Regions from separate parts of the Homo sapiens genome. Here all the other regions are linked to region 2. The links are contacts of gene promoters, found by promoter capture Hi-C in blood cells and fetal thymus (Javierre and others, 2016). All regions are on one chromosome and are shown on one strand. The core of a region is centred on a gene start or on the middle of the fragment in contact, and the rest is flanking DNA. Distances in the headings are between cores, read along the strand shown. Region 1 holds the start of PHF14 (PHD finger protein 14). Region 2 holds the start of ANKMY2 (ankyrin repeat and MYND domain containing 2). Region 3 overlaps KLHL7 (kelch like family member 7).

Evidence for each region. The method cuts DNA at HindIII sites, captures the fragments that hold promoters and counts their contacts. A CHiCAGO score of 5 or more calls a contact.
Region 1: a contact is called between the fragment with the promoter of PHF14 here and the fragment with the promoter of ANKMY2 in region 2, in 4 of 17 cell types (naive CD8 T cells, total CD4 T cells, non-activated CD4 T cells and 1 more). The highest score is 8.9, in naive CD8 T cells.
Region 3: a contact is called between a fragment that was not itself captured here and the fragment with the promoter of ANKMY2 in region 2, in 1 of 17 cell types (non-activated CD4 T cells). The highest score is 5.6, in non-activated CD4 T cells.

What each region holds. Positions count from the first base shown.
Region 1 is chr7:10,972,278-10,976,689 of GRCh38, forward strand. PHF14 (PHD finger protein 14) reads left to right here and starts at 1,595. Exons shown (of 18, transcript NM_001007157.2): 1 at 1,595-2,047; 2 at 2,558-2,668. The coding sequence starts at 2,047. RefSeq lists silencers at 790-839, 1,350-1,409, 2,390-2,439 and an enhancer at 1,365-1,659. The HindIII fragment of the contact is 4,357 bases long and covers 1,013-4,412 here.
Region 2 is chr7:16,643,860-16,648,360 of GRCh38, forward strand. It overlaps ANKMY2 (ankyrin repeat and MYND domain containing 2), which reads right to left and starts at 1,895. Exons shown (of 10, transcript NM_020319.3): 1 at 1,648-1,895. The coding sequence starts at 1,714. BZW2 (basic leucine zipper and W2 domains 2) reads left to right here and starts at 2,322. Exons shown (of 12, transcript NM_014038.3): 1 at 2,322-2,429. RefSeq lists enhancers at 2,022-2,301, 4,496-4,501. The HindIII fragment of the contact is 5,140 bases long and covers 1-3,569 here.
Region 3 is chr7:23,106,688-23,111,294 of GRCh38, forward strand. The region is part of intron 1 of KLHL7 (kelch like family member 7); the gene reads left to right. Among named protein-coding and RNA genes, the nearest start is that of KLHL7, 3.2 kb to the left of the region's middle. RefSeq lists enhancers at 1-259, 1-44. The HindIII fragment of the contact is 2,615 bases long and covers 228-2,842 here.

The DNA of each region.
Region 1 (4,412 bases), core at 345-2,844, 5.7 Mb before region 2:
AATGAATTAATACATTTTGATTCTGAAAATCTCCTTCTAGAAATTAGTTTTACATAAACACGAATGCCAGATTTTGAATTTCTCTTTTAGATGATTCAGCATAATTGCTCCAAATAAATCTAAAAGGCTATTGTCAAACAGTGGAATATTTGGATTTATAATTTCATAGATAAGACTATCAGTCCATGATATGGTTGGTGTTTAAAGTAGAATGGAAGTGAAATTCCCAGAGTGGAGTTTTTAAAATAACCAAGTTCCTAGGATTTTAACTGGAAGAATAAATATCTGAAAGGCAATGAGGAGTATTAAGCATGGGATGCCACTTCTGCACCTTGAGAAAATGAAGTATGGAAGGATGAGTGGTTTTCATTTGAGAGGGCTGCAGGGTAACTGTTTCTATTTCAGATGAGGAGGTAAAAAGAATGGGCATTGAAAAGGAAAAATGTTTACTAAGTAGGTTATACATTTTGGAATAGAAGTTTCTATAGCACAATAGAAAAGTTTGAGAGGTCACATGGCAATGATAGTTTGGGTGAGAGTGAGGCAGGAGAATAGGGTGTGGAGGCAGGGAACCTAAGGATGTGTCACTCCGACTTCCTAAGAACTAAATTGAAAGGAAACCCCTAACTTTCCATGCCTAAGTAACAAAAGGACCAGAGGCTACTCCCTTTGCAAACCCCCACTTTTTCTGCAGGGCAGATGGGAAATTGGCTGTGGGCAGCAAATCAGACTGATTGCAGGAGAGTCTTCCTTTGCATAGAAGTATCACTTTGTAACTTCACCATCTGCAAGAAATCAAACTGATTGCAGGGGAAATCTTCCTTTGCATAGAGGTATACCACTTTGTAACTTCACCCTAGCCTCTGATTGATTGCTTTTTGCACCAATGTTTGCACAGGAGCATGACCTTTGTAACTTCACTTCAGCCTCTGGTTGGCTGCTTTCTGCAACCAATCAGACTGATTGCGCGTTACTTCATTTACATGAGGTGAGCATTAGGTGGCCAATAGGAAGCTTCTAGAGGGTATTTGGACTCAAGATTCTGTATCCGGGCCCTTGAGCCGCTGCTCAGGTCGCTTCCGTACAGAGCGTGCTTTAATTTTCAATAAGTCCCTGCTTTTGTTGTTTTGTTGCTTCATTCTTTCTTTGCTTTGCTGGGCGTTTTGTCCAATTCTTTGTTAAAAACGCCAAGAACCTGGACAACTTGCAGTCACGATCCTCTACCGGTGACAATATCATTTAAATATTGGTAGTGGCTTAAGGTAGCAAACATCCCTTTGTGGAACGTTTACTCAGTAAATCCTTAAAAAACAGATCAGAAACAAAAACTGGCCTCCCAGGGATTTGGACTCAGGAGGTGAATTAGGCGCGGAGAGGGCGGAGCCTTTGGGGTTTATGGGCGGAATTGCACAGGGTTTGGCGGGGATCTCTGCTCCGCCTTGGCACTACTCGGCTCCGCTCGCCTCCGCGCGGCTCCCTGGGCTTTCACTCGGCTCTGTTCGGCTCCTGCTCGGGAAGGGTGCGCGGGGGCGAGTCCTGCGCATGCGCCCTCAATTCCTGCTGCTCTCAGGGCTGCGCTCAGCCTCGTGTTTTCACTTCCTTTTCAGAGCTGTATCCGGGTCGCTGCTTTCCCTATTGTCTGAGGCAGCCGCCCTCGCGCTGTGCAATTTCTGGTCTTTCGTTGCTTCTGGTCCAGGCTAATAAAGTTTTTCTTTCTTTAATTTTTTTTCTTCTAGTTTTAACGGGAGAAATTAACTCCCCGGGGCCGCCGGGTTGACTGCGCTGCCTGGGCCGGAGGTCTTCTCCGGCCAGGGAGCGCTGTGGGAAGGGGCTCGAGCGGCCAGGGCCAGGCGAGGCCGGGGGGGCGGGGGGTTAGGGGACCGCGGGGCTACTCTTGGGAGCGCCCCTGTCCGGCTGGCTGCGCGCCGGTTTTAAATAGCATCTTTCGGACTTGTCTTCGCGGCCCCAGTCCCCGACCTCGGCGCTGCCTGGGCTCCTGCAGCCTCTCCCTAAGTCTTCTCCAAACGACCACCTCACGGATTCCTTAGTAAGTGTATCCGAGGCCTCTGCGGCGAGAGGTCCATTTCAGCCATTCTAGAAGTCAGGGCCGGTGGGAGCAGGGCAGGGGTGGGAGAGTCCTGCGGGAAAGCAGGATTGGTGGACCCTCGCCCTCCATGGTCCGCGGGAATGAAGCCCGCTTGTTTTATTCCCTGATTTTTGCCGTTTTTATTGACTGTTACGATGTCTAAGTGGGGGATTACGAGGAAGGTGCAGAAACATCTCGAAAAGATGAGCAAGAGGGTCAGCTTCGATTTTAGCTGGTCTGAGTTGGCGTTGGCAGCATCAGGGCTGGAGCTGCCTTTGAAACTGCCCGTGGAGCTGTCCAGCCCTCCCCACCCTGCTTCTGCACCCCAACCTTCTCCTGACCCCTTTTGCTGAGAACTCAGTTAGACAAAAATTCCTTGTGCGAGGTCATCTTTATGTTCTCTTAGCACCACAACTCTCCCCTGTGTTTGGTGTGATTATGAATGACAATGTAATTTTTTTCTCTTCACAGTGGATCGCAGCTCCAAGAGGAGGCAGGTGAAGCCTTTGGCAGCTTCTCTGCTGGAAGCTCTTGATTATGATAGTTCAGATGACAGTGATTTTAAAGTTGGAGATGCCTCAGGTAAATATTTCCTTCTCTCTTCCCCTTTCCCAGCTTTCTGGAGTTAGGCTTATTTTTAGACTTTTTAAATCGGTTTTGATTAAAATGCCAATTTTAAGTGAAAGCACGTAAACTTCATTTATTTTGTCCATTTGATTTCCCATTTTGCCTTTAGATCCTGTCACTAGACCTATAATTGCTTCTGTTTTCCTCAGAGATAATTAGCAGTCAGGGGAAGGACTTTTTCCAAAGATGCAAAAGGATTTCTCTGTTTTACACCTTAAAATATATTTATGCTTATATTATAGAGGAAAAAACTGAAAGATATCCCGAAGTAGAAAAGTATCCTGAGAGGTGTGTGGACCATTAATAGTCCCTGAGCAGGGTTCTTCTTTTTTCAGATCACTTGACAATCTCTTAGGGGAGTTTTGCTTTTTTTGTGTATTAGCTCTTTTACTAGAATAAAATTGACCAGAGTAAGAGTTGCACTTCAAATTATAGTAGGTGCTGGACCTTGTGGATTGGGCCTTTCAGATGTCTCTGAAGTATAAGTCATGCATGCTTGCTCACTATATTTAGTAATTTTAAAAACTTTTTTTAAAGGTCGTATATTCACATTGTACTAAACTGGAAAACAGAAAAGTATGATTTTCCTTTGTATTTTCTGTTCAGTGTACCTTATGTATATATACAGTTTCAATTGAAGGAATCTGAGAAACAAAAATTATGTTTAATTTAAATGTTTTATGGGAAAAATACTGATAAACATGAACAATGAAAATTATGTGTAATTCCACCTCTTTTGAAAATTTTAATAAAGTGAGATGAAAATTTAAATAAAATGAGAAGTAAAAGCCTTTCCAGTTTCATCTCTTCAACAGTTTTTAAATATACTTCCAGAGAGTTTGCCGTGGTTAGTCACATCTCTCCTTCTTCTGGTTTTCCCTTGTCTTTTTCCTGCTAGGGATAGTAGGAAGGGATGAACGAAATTATATTACTGTTGCTACTTTTAGTAGCATCAACAGCAGAATTTGCATTGTGATTTACTGATAACTTTTTGTTTGCATAATCTCACTTAATTTTCACAGTAACTTAGTGAAGGAGATACCATTTTACAGGTAACAGGGGTATTGAGTTTAAAGAACTGGCATGAGGTCACTCAGGCAGTAACGGATCCAATGGATTTGACTTCAGAATTTAGTCTGTTTATCTGCTTGGATCCCAAGAGTTGATGGACGGAATCTTAAACAGAAACTGACTATTTGGTTACTAATTGAATTCATCCGCAGCAATCAAAAATTGATAAGTTTATCTTGATTAACTGTTTTTTTATCCTTTGCTTCTCAGCTCTTTATCTCCCATTTAGTTGGTTTGCTGATATTTGGTATTTCCAAAGAAGGGAAGGGGAAGGGAAAGGAGGTAAAATTTAAATCTTAGTTCTCTTGGTAAAGACCTTGGCAGATAAGAATATTCCTGGCTAGGATGTAGTTTTGGTTTGTTATGGTTGTGGTTGTAAACTTTGACAAACATAGTTGGGTCGTGGAAGTTACGAATTCTTTGAATATGGGAACAATTCTAAAACTTACATTAAGTATTACATTATTATGTGACAATAAATCTTGACTTTATGGACAATTTGTTTCCAAGGTTTGTTCATTGAGATGGAATATTCACAGGTATCACTTCTTTTTCAAGTGGTAAAACAATCTGATACAAACATAAAGTACTTTCTCAAAATATTTTATGATATCGAGCTAAGTAGAGA
Region 2 (4,501 bases), core at 645-3,144:
TCTACAAAAAAAAAAAAAAAATCTTTCTAAAGTAGCCGGGCATGGTGGCTCGCACCTGTAGTCCCAGCCACTAGGGAGGTGGAGGCTGCAGAGAGCTGCAACTCCAGCCTGGGTGAAGAGTGAGATCCTGTCTCAAACAAACGAGAGAGAGAGAGAAAGAGACAGCGAGAGCGAGAGAGAGAGAGGACATGTACTAGCTCTGTCCTGCCTAAAAGAATTTTTGTCCCTGGTGGATTGTGAATTGATCCTTTGTCTCCTTTTTGCCCAGCACAGTACCTGGCACACAGCTAGAACTTGCATGTTTGCTTAATTGAATCCCAGAGCCATCAAAGGCAGGGAGAAATTACCTAGAGACAGGAAGAACTGAAAGACTGAAATGCCAAATAGGTCAGCAAGAACCATGCAGTACAACAATCTAAACTCTAACCCAAATCCCCAAATTCCAGGCAAAGAACACATCATTGATAGATATAGCTGTGACTGACTTAGAATAGTTGAGATCAGATCGGGTGGGCTCAGCTCATCAGCACCTGTTGAGTTCAAACCGGAATTTTTTCTCCTTCGCATGTGGAGTTTCCTTGTCGCTATGAAGAATAAATCTGCCTTATTCTCTAGGATTCCACATTTCAGCCTGGCTACTAAGTAAATAAAACTGGAAACTGGGAAGCCTTATGCTGCAATGACTGGCATCTCTGCCATTCGAGGACAAACATGGCTATATTATTATTGAGTTTAAAATCACCACATTAATTGCCCGGAGTCGCACGCATCACCATCCCTGCACCGTGAGGGTGCAGAAGAAGCATGCAGTCACGCTGATGTCACCTGCCAGGTAACGGGACTCGGCAGGGAACTCCTCTGGGACGTCCACTCGGGGACTCCGGGGAAATATGGCTTCTGGCTCGTCCTCGGGGCTCCCCGCTGGGACTCAGCACTGCGGAAGTGGGGCACGCCTTGGGGGAGTGGACAAGAAAGCGCGAAGGAGCGCGATTAGAAGGTCTCATCTGTGCAACGTGGGCCGAGGGGTGGGTGTGGAGGCCTCGCCAATTTCCTTGTCTCTCTAGGGTTCCTGAGGCTGTCGGGGCTTCTGGAAGCCAGGGAGGCCCTGGATACGGAAGTCTCAATGCAGCAAATTACAGACCTAGTTCTGTACCCTTATGAAGAACCCCTCTCCCTAAGGGCGCCCTCCACTCCCAAGCGGGGGCGGGGATCGGCAAAGGATCCAGATCATTCGGCCTGCGGAAGTCTAAAGGGTCATTTAGACACCCGCCTAAGAACCTGAAACTACCAGGACTGACCGCGGTCAAAATCCCTCGGGAGCAGTGAAGAATTCACACACTGGGGTCCACACCCCGGGAAGCTCGCATTAACCTAAGGCGGGGCGTGGAAATCCGTACGTTTCCAAAAGCGGATTTAGAGGCCGAGCCTCTGTAACTACCCCTCTTGTCCCAGCACTGCTTCTGCCTCCCCACCTCTCCGCCCCTGCAACCTTTCCCAGACCAAAGGGAGAAACGCTCTTTCCCGGTTCCAGGCTGCAAACCTTGCAGAACCGCAGCCAAAGGTCACCCAGGCCAGGAGCGCCCCCCGGGCTCCGCCACGCCCCCCGGCCAGGCTGGCCGCGGCCGCGTCGCAGCCCAGCACCCGTACCTTTCCCGATGACTTCCAGTAGCTCCTTCTCCTCCTGGGTCAGCTCGCCTTTCTTTATGTGAACCATTGCTCCCGCCAGCTTGAAGGTTATTCCCTTTCTTAGGGAGTATTAAAAAAGAAACGATGCGTCTGTATTGGGAACGCCAGCCGCAATGAGGCAACTTGAGACCAAGACACTGAGTAGCCAACCGCGGAAACGCTTCGCTTCTCTCCTCCCTCCCGCGGGCTGGCGGACAGCGGGCGAGCTCGGGCGAGCCAGGCGGACGGTCTCCGCAGGCCCTGCGGCGGTCACCGCCTGCCGCCTGTCATTGGCCCTGCCGAGGAGGAGGAGCCGCAGGAGGCGGTAGCGAGAGATCGCCATTGGAGCAACCTGGGAGGACAAAACCAAATGCAGAAAGCTGGAGGGGGGAATTAAATTCCTCCTACACGTTCCGCTCCCCTATCCTGTCCGGTTCAAATATTTCGCCACATGTAATATTGAAAATTCTACAGCTGGCAGTTATGTGCTCAGCGACGGCTTTCTGGGGCATGCAGAGGCCCCAGGTTGTCGCCGTACCCCCACCATTCCCCCGGGAGTGGCGCAGTCTGGGCGGGGGCGGTCTAGGAGACGGGGGCGGTACGGGAGGCGGGGCTGCGCCGGGTTCCGTGTGTCTATGTCAATGTGTCTGTCCTTCACTCCTCCATTGTCTGCCGCCACTGCTGCTGCTGCTGCTGCTGCCGCTGCTGCTGCACGAATCGCCGCAGCCCCCAGCCTTGCGCGTCGTCGCTACCTCCTCGGACAGGTGAGAAGCAGCCCAGGTGAGGCAAGGGGCGCCGTGAGGGTTGCGAGAGTAGCGACTGCCGCCCCGCCGGGGTTTCCATCGGGCAGGAGCTGGCGGGGAGGAAGCATGTGCCTCCTGGGGCGGCTTCCTGCCTCGCGGTGGAGAAGCCCCCGCTCCACCTCATCATCACGGCGCGTACGGGGTATCAGTGCCCTGGGATGAAGACCTCCGACTCGCAACGTTTGGCCGCCTCGGGAGACCCTGGGACCGCGGGCGGGCGGGCGGGGGCCAGCCACGCGGTGGGAAGTGGCGGGTGCACATGGTCTCGTGCGTGGCACCGCCAGATGCGGCTCCCGGGGAGGCTGGGGCCGGGGCTCTGGGCTAGGTAGGGGTCGCAAGGACAGCGCCCCATTACTAGCGAGTCAGTGAGAACAGACTCGGGAGAAGGTAGTTTTTACGCTGGTGATCCTCGCCCTCCCCACTACTTGTCATCTCTTTGGCCTCTGTGGAAGCTGTAGAAGAAAACCTGATCGCCCAATGTTGCTTGTTAAAGATGTTTGGAAACAATTTACACTTGCACTAATACTTCGTTTATGAGAGACAGCCTGTGGGAGGGGGAAGGAAGGGCTTCTTTGCTCTGCTAGAGTTCTCGGTTCTCTTTGTAACTCAGATCTTGAGATTTATGGAAATAGGGAGTGGAGGGTGGGGAGGTTGGAGAGGGCGGAGATTAAATTGGTGTTGCTGCCTATATATAGCCTTAGATTAGCCTCTTAATCCAACCTTCATTCAACTGTAATATGTAGCCTGGAGCTTCGACCATAGGTAGATGGGGGTAAATACAAGTGTGTATTTCAGAATAAGATTTGCTTGCTAAAATGCGGGAATCAGTCATTTCTCCAGGGTGCAGATTTATATTTACATCATCAATGAAAGTTTCTTTGGAAATTAGTGTTTATGTTTTACTGTTGTTTCCCTACAGAGTAGTATTGATGTTTCTCTCAATATGTGTGTCAAAGAGACGTGTATGTGTCAAAGAGAAATATTTGAGTAATTATGTAGGTGGTTTTTGTTAAGCATCCCCAGGACCACTGTTTCTTCTCATAGCGCCATACGAAAAGCGAAATGCATTTTCCTCTGGCCTTAGGCATTTATTTTGCGTGAAGCTTTCACTAACATCTGAAATCTCCTGGAATATGTTTATCATTATTTCCTGCCTTTAGCAAAAATCTTTCCTAAACTCCAGCTGTTTTTCCCCCCTAAAGCTTCAGCATTAAAGACTGGGACAGATCTGAGCCAGAACATCTTACATGAAAATGGTTTGAAATTATTCATCTCAGTGTATAACAAAGATACTTTTGTTGGATGATGCTTTAATAATGATGTGGCTGTTCAAGCAAGTAGTAAGGCTCCTGAGAGTGACCAATCTTTTGTAATGCTGTTAGTTCAGAGTTACAATTGATTTATAACATAGTATCATGCGGAAGAAACCCACAAACCTAAAAAAACAGTTGAGTGGTAACCTCCTGGAACATGTGATTTAGCATCTTACCAGCAGATGCATACACATAATTGGGTACTTCATTGCTAGTATTTCCATCTCTTGTGCCAAATCTGGGCCATGGTTACTTGAAGGTCACACCTGTTTGTCTCACTGGGGTTGTCAGTTCCTCGAGGATAGCAGCTTACTATCTATTTTCTTGATGCCTTATGACACTTGGTTGGTATTTAGTGCTCTCTGAATACATGACCAGTGAATTTAGAGACAATAACGTTGAAAGAGAATCTAACATCTACCTAGAAATGCAAATAAATCATGTTCAGTTTACATTTCTAGAAACAGATTCATAATGGGTACTGTTCATTAGATGGATTGATTACATTAGTAGTTTTGTATGGTGTAAATATTTAATGTAGGGATAAGATTAGATAATGAGCATATTAAAACAGATTCACATCAAAGAAGTTTTATTGATAATAAGATAGCTACTTCATATTGAGTATTTAGTCTGTGCTAGATATTCTACCAGATGCTTTGCATAGAATTATTCTAGTGTTATGACAACCCAGGAATGAGCCAATATTATACCCACTTT
Region 3 (4,607 bases), core at 285-2,784, 6.5 Mb after region 2:
CATGCCATCTTCTAAGGGCACTGTGCGCCTCTGTTATTAAGAGGAGCTCTTTGTTCTGTCCTTGGTGTGTGGTGCATTCGTGAAATTCTGCAGCACATCGGCGAAAGGTGGGTTATGAAAAGAACGGATTTTAACGCTGGCGAAGGTGAAACAAAGAGGCTTTTTTTTTTTTTAATTCCATAACATCTACACCGATAAGCATAGAAAGTCACTTTTTCCTTTCTGTAAGCTTTATTTATAGATAATACACATCTAAGTAGATTTGTGGGAATGTTTGGGTTTTGTTGACTGGGATCCTGTTTCAAGGGGACAAAGCAGGATGTGAGTTATGTGTAACTGCAAAACCTAGTTTGCTTTGTCTGGTGGTTCTGCTGGGAATATGGGCAACAGTAGAGGAATTTAAGATTTTTATGAAGATATTAACTTCTGGTTTCTATAAGCAAACGCTGACTGCTGGGATTTTGTCTTTGTTCACCAGCTCCTGCTACAGTGCACCAGTGCAGTCTGTGGGAATGCTTTTAAATCTTTCCTGGCCTGGCCTTTGTGCTGAAGTACTGTGAATGCCTGAATTCGTTAATTTATGTAACTGACTTTCATGTATCTATTTTCAAATTCATGTTCCTTTCATGTAAACCTTTTTGTATCTACAATACCACAGACTTCAAATTGCTGGTGCATTTAGCTATTGCCTGCCTGTAATGGTAGTTGAACATAGTTAACCAGGGCTTAAACTCGTTGAAGACTCATTAGGTTCCCTCCCACTCCCTCGAATATATGTTTTCATTCGTGGATCATAGCATTGTAAAGCATTGCCTTAATCCCTAAATAGGGTGAAACTGGATTGCAGCAGCAAATATTTACTTGAGGAGCAGAGGATTATCTGAGACTGTCCGTTTAGCTCTTTGGATTTAAAAAGTGACTCACATTTCTTAGCTTTGGAGTATATTAACATCACTTATTTACCGTTACAATAGAAGTACAATTACTGAAAAATCAGGGTTCTGTTACTGAGTAGGAAGGAAAAAATGGTTACCTGGTGAACAACCAGGGGTCCCCTCCACAATGATTAACTGACCTTAATCTGCCAGGTTCTCCTGTTGTCAGTGGTTTGGCATGTGATTCAAACAGTTCTCCAATAGCACTTTTATCAACTTCATGGAATCATGCATCTTTTGCAAGATGTGCAGTTTCACTTCGCAATTGATTTACATTATGGTTATATTGTATTGTCCTGTTTAACATCATAACACAGGAAACAATTGACCGAGAATGACTGACAAGGGCAGTTGATGGGAATTGGCAGAAACAGTGGCTGGTCTGAGCCAGAGTAGGAATGTTTGAGTGAGGACCAACTTTATAAGTGCTCTTGTTCTTTAGTAAATATTTTTGTGTTATGACTACTTTTACATCCCTTTACAATCTCATTGCTTTAAGGATCAGGATAATGAGTGCCTAGATGACAAGGACCCCTCTGTAAACATCCAGAAACATTCCTTCAAGAATTTGAGAACATTGTGAGATTAGCATACCTCAGTTCCAATCCTGCTCTCTCATTATTTCATTTTGTTATTTTAGATAACATGATTTGGGTCATTCCATCTCTCTGTAGTATAGTGGCCGATTCTATACATAGAGGCAAAAGGGGATTCTGCAGAGCCAGCAGCCTCGGCTTCTTCTAAAGCCTTTTCCTACATTGTTTTTGTCATTTCTAGCCTTTTGTTTCTAAGTAAACTCTCCAGTGAAGTATGGGATACATATAAGAGGGCACAAATCATAAATGTATAGCTCAATTATTACAAAGTGCACATCCCACCAACAAGACGAGAACATGACCAGTACACCAGAGGTCCCCCCTTATGCCCTTCTCAGTCACCAACCCCACAGTAGTAACAACTATTCTAACTCTGTAACCATCGAAGTTAGAGCAGAAGCAACCATTGATAAATACCATGCCATGCCATCTTCTAAGGGCACTATGCACCCCTGTTATTAAGAGGAGCTCTTTGTTCTGTCTTTGGTGTGTGGTGCATTCATGAAAGTCTGCAGCACATCGGCAAAAAGTGGGTTTTTCCTGTGTTTGAACTTATATAAATGTAATCATATGGCATAAACTCTTGTGTTTTGTTTTCTTAAAGCCAACATTGTTTGTGAGATTCATCTGTGCTGTGTGTAGCGCTACTTCATCCTTGTGGTATATAGTATCCCATTGAATGAATATAGCACAATTTATCCATTCTATCATTATGAACATTTGGGTTATTTCTAGTTTGGAACTATTAAGACTAGTACTACTTTGAACATTTTTGTACACTTTGTACATGCCTTTTGGTATGCATATGTATGTATTAATATTTGTGTTGGGAAATACCAAACAGGAATTTTTGAGTCATAAGCTATACCACCTTCAGCTTTAAAAGATATCGTCGTGTAGTTTTCCAAAGTGATTGTACCATGTTACGCTTCTGCCAGTTGTGTGTGAGAGAGGTTTTTGCTCCGCATCCCTGCCATCACTTGATGTTGTCAGTCTTATCACTTTAGCCATTCTAACTGGGTGTATAGGAGCATCTTATTTAATTGGATTGAGTACCTTTTCATTTATTTCTTTAACTTTTTGCTTAGATTAATGTTATTACCTGATATGTAAAATAGAGGCTTTACAAGGCAGGTCTGGGTCACAGTCACTATTGCACATGCACATTGCTGTTGCCATACTCTTCTTTTGTGTTAATGAAGTCCAGGAGTCTCTTAACATTGGAGGAAGATGTTTTAAGACCTTCCTGAGTACCACCATAGTTTATAGTTTCTCCACATTAAATGAATTAAAGCATAACTGGAACTTGAAAGCTTATGTTAAAGTCCTTATTGAGAGTTATGTGAGAGAACTACAAAGCTGATTTCACAATTAGATACTGGGCAGTTAACTGGGCTCACCTTCCGGCTAAAATGACTTTGCTTCTGTATTCTCATCTGTCTGACTGTAAATTACTACATGTCATTATCTTTAGGTTCTCTTGTGAATAATCTAAACCTTCAGTGTTAAACCCTTGATATTAATAAGACTTCTTGAGCACTTATAACTGTTCCAGCCACTCTGCAGAGTGTTTTACATGCTTTGTCTCATTTAATTCTCTTAACTTTCATTGACAATTCCAGTCATCCAGACCTTCTTATTCTTTTTCCTGTACTTTACTGTTTTCTGTTTTCTTTTTCTGTCTGTCCAGCTTAGAAGCTATTGTCACTCCACTGTCTCTCCAGTGTCCCAGTTTTCTTGACCCTCTGTCCCTTTTTCATGTCCATCTGGCAAACTTGAGTATTGATGACTGATTACCTTCTTTGTGCAAGGCTCCAAGCACAGCTGGAAAATATCTCACTGGGCAACTTCTGCCAAGTAAGTGCTTGGCCACTAATTTCCACTAGACTATCAGTGCCCGTGAGCAATCTTTTTGTTTTACTATTTTCCTCCAATCTGAGTCCTTTCTCTAGATCCTCACTTTCAGCAGATCACCTTCTTTTGACACCATAGATAAATAGAAGTCATTAGTCTAGAACTGTCTACCTTTTCACTTTCTACCACCAGATCTATAAACCTATTTTGACACTTTCCCTTTTCTCTTCTTATCCTGCTACAATGGAGATGCTGCTGCTTTTTCTAAGGCCAGTACTTCTACCTAGGCTTTGGCTTCCTGGATGCTGGGCTTCTCAGAAGTATTATACTGTTGGTTATTCCATCTTTGTTGAGCATCTTTAACTTTTCTTCTTTGCTGGATTCTTGCTATTAGCACTTAAGCTTGTTTTAACCTCTCCAGCTTTTGAACCAAACAACCAGCAAACCCATTCTTAATCTCAACATACCCCTCTAAATACTTCTCTCCCCCCATTAAGATGAAAAGCTGAGTAAATTCACTACATTTTCTTTTGTTTTTTTTTTAATTTTATTATTATTATACTTTAAGTTTTAGGGTACATGTGCACAATGTGCAGGTTTGTTACATATGTATACATGTGCCATATTGGTGTGCTGCACCCATTAACTCGTCATTTAGTATTAGGTATATCTCCTAATGCTATCCCTCCCCCCTCCCCCCACCCCACAACAGTCCCCAAAGTGTGATGTTCCCCTTCCTGTGTCCGTGTGTTCTCATTGTTCAAGTCCCACCTATGAGTGAGAACATGCGGTTCACTACATTTTCTTACTTACTATTTATTTATTACTCTAGTTCAATTTGGCTTCCAAGTTCATTCATTGAAATGAATACTTATTGACAACCCACTGTATGCTAAACATTTTGCTAGATTCTGGGGTTGCAATGATAAGCAAACCCTGACAGTCCCAATCCTCTTGTGGTTTATAGGCTAGTAGAAAAGCAAGACATTAGTCAAGTAATCACACAAATAAATGTAATATTGCAACAGTGGTAGGTATTACACAGGAGAATAACATGGTACAACGAGGGCATATGGGTGGGTAATTTGACCATCAGGAAGTTTTCTCTAAGGAAATGGTCATTGAGAGCTGAAATAAGAGTAGGTGTTAACTAGGTAAAGAGAAAAGGGAAGAGTGACTCAAGTAGAGGGAACAACATATTCAGAGGCTCTGAGTTGGAGAC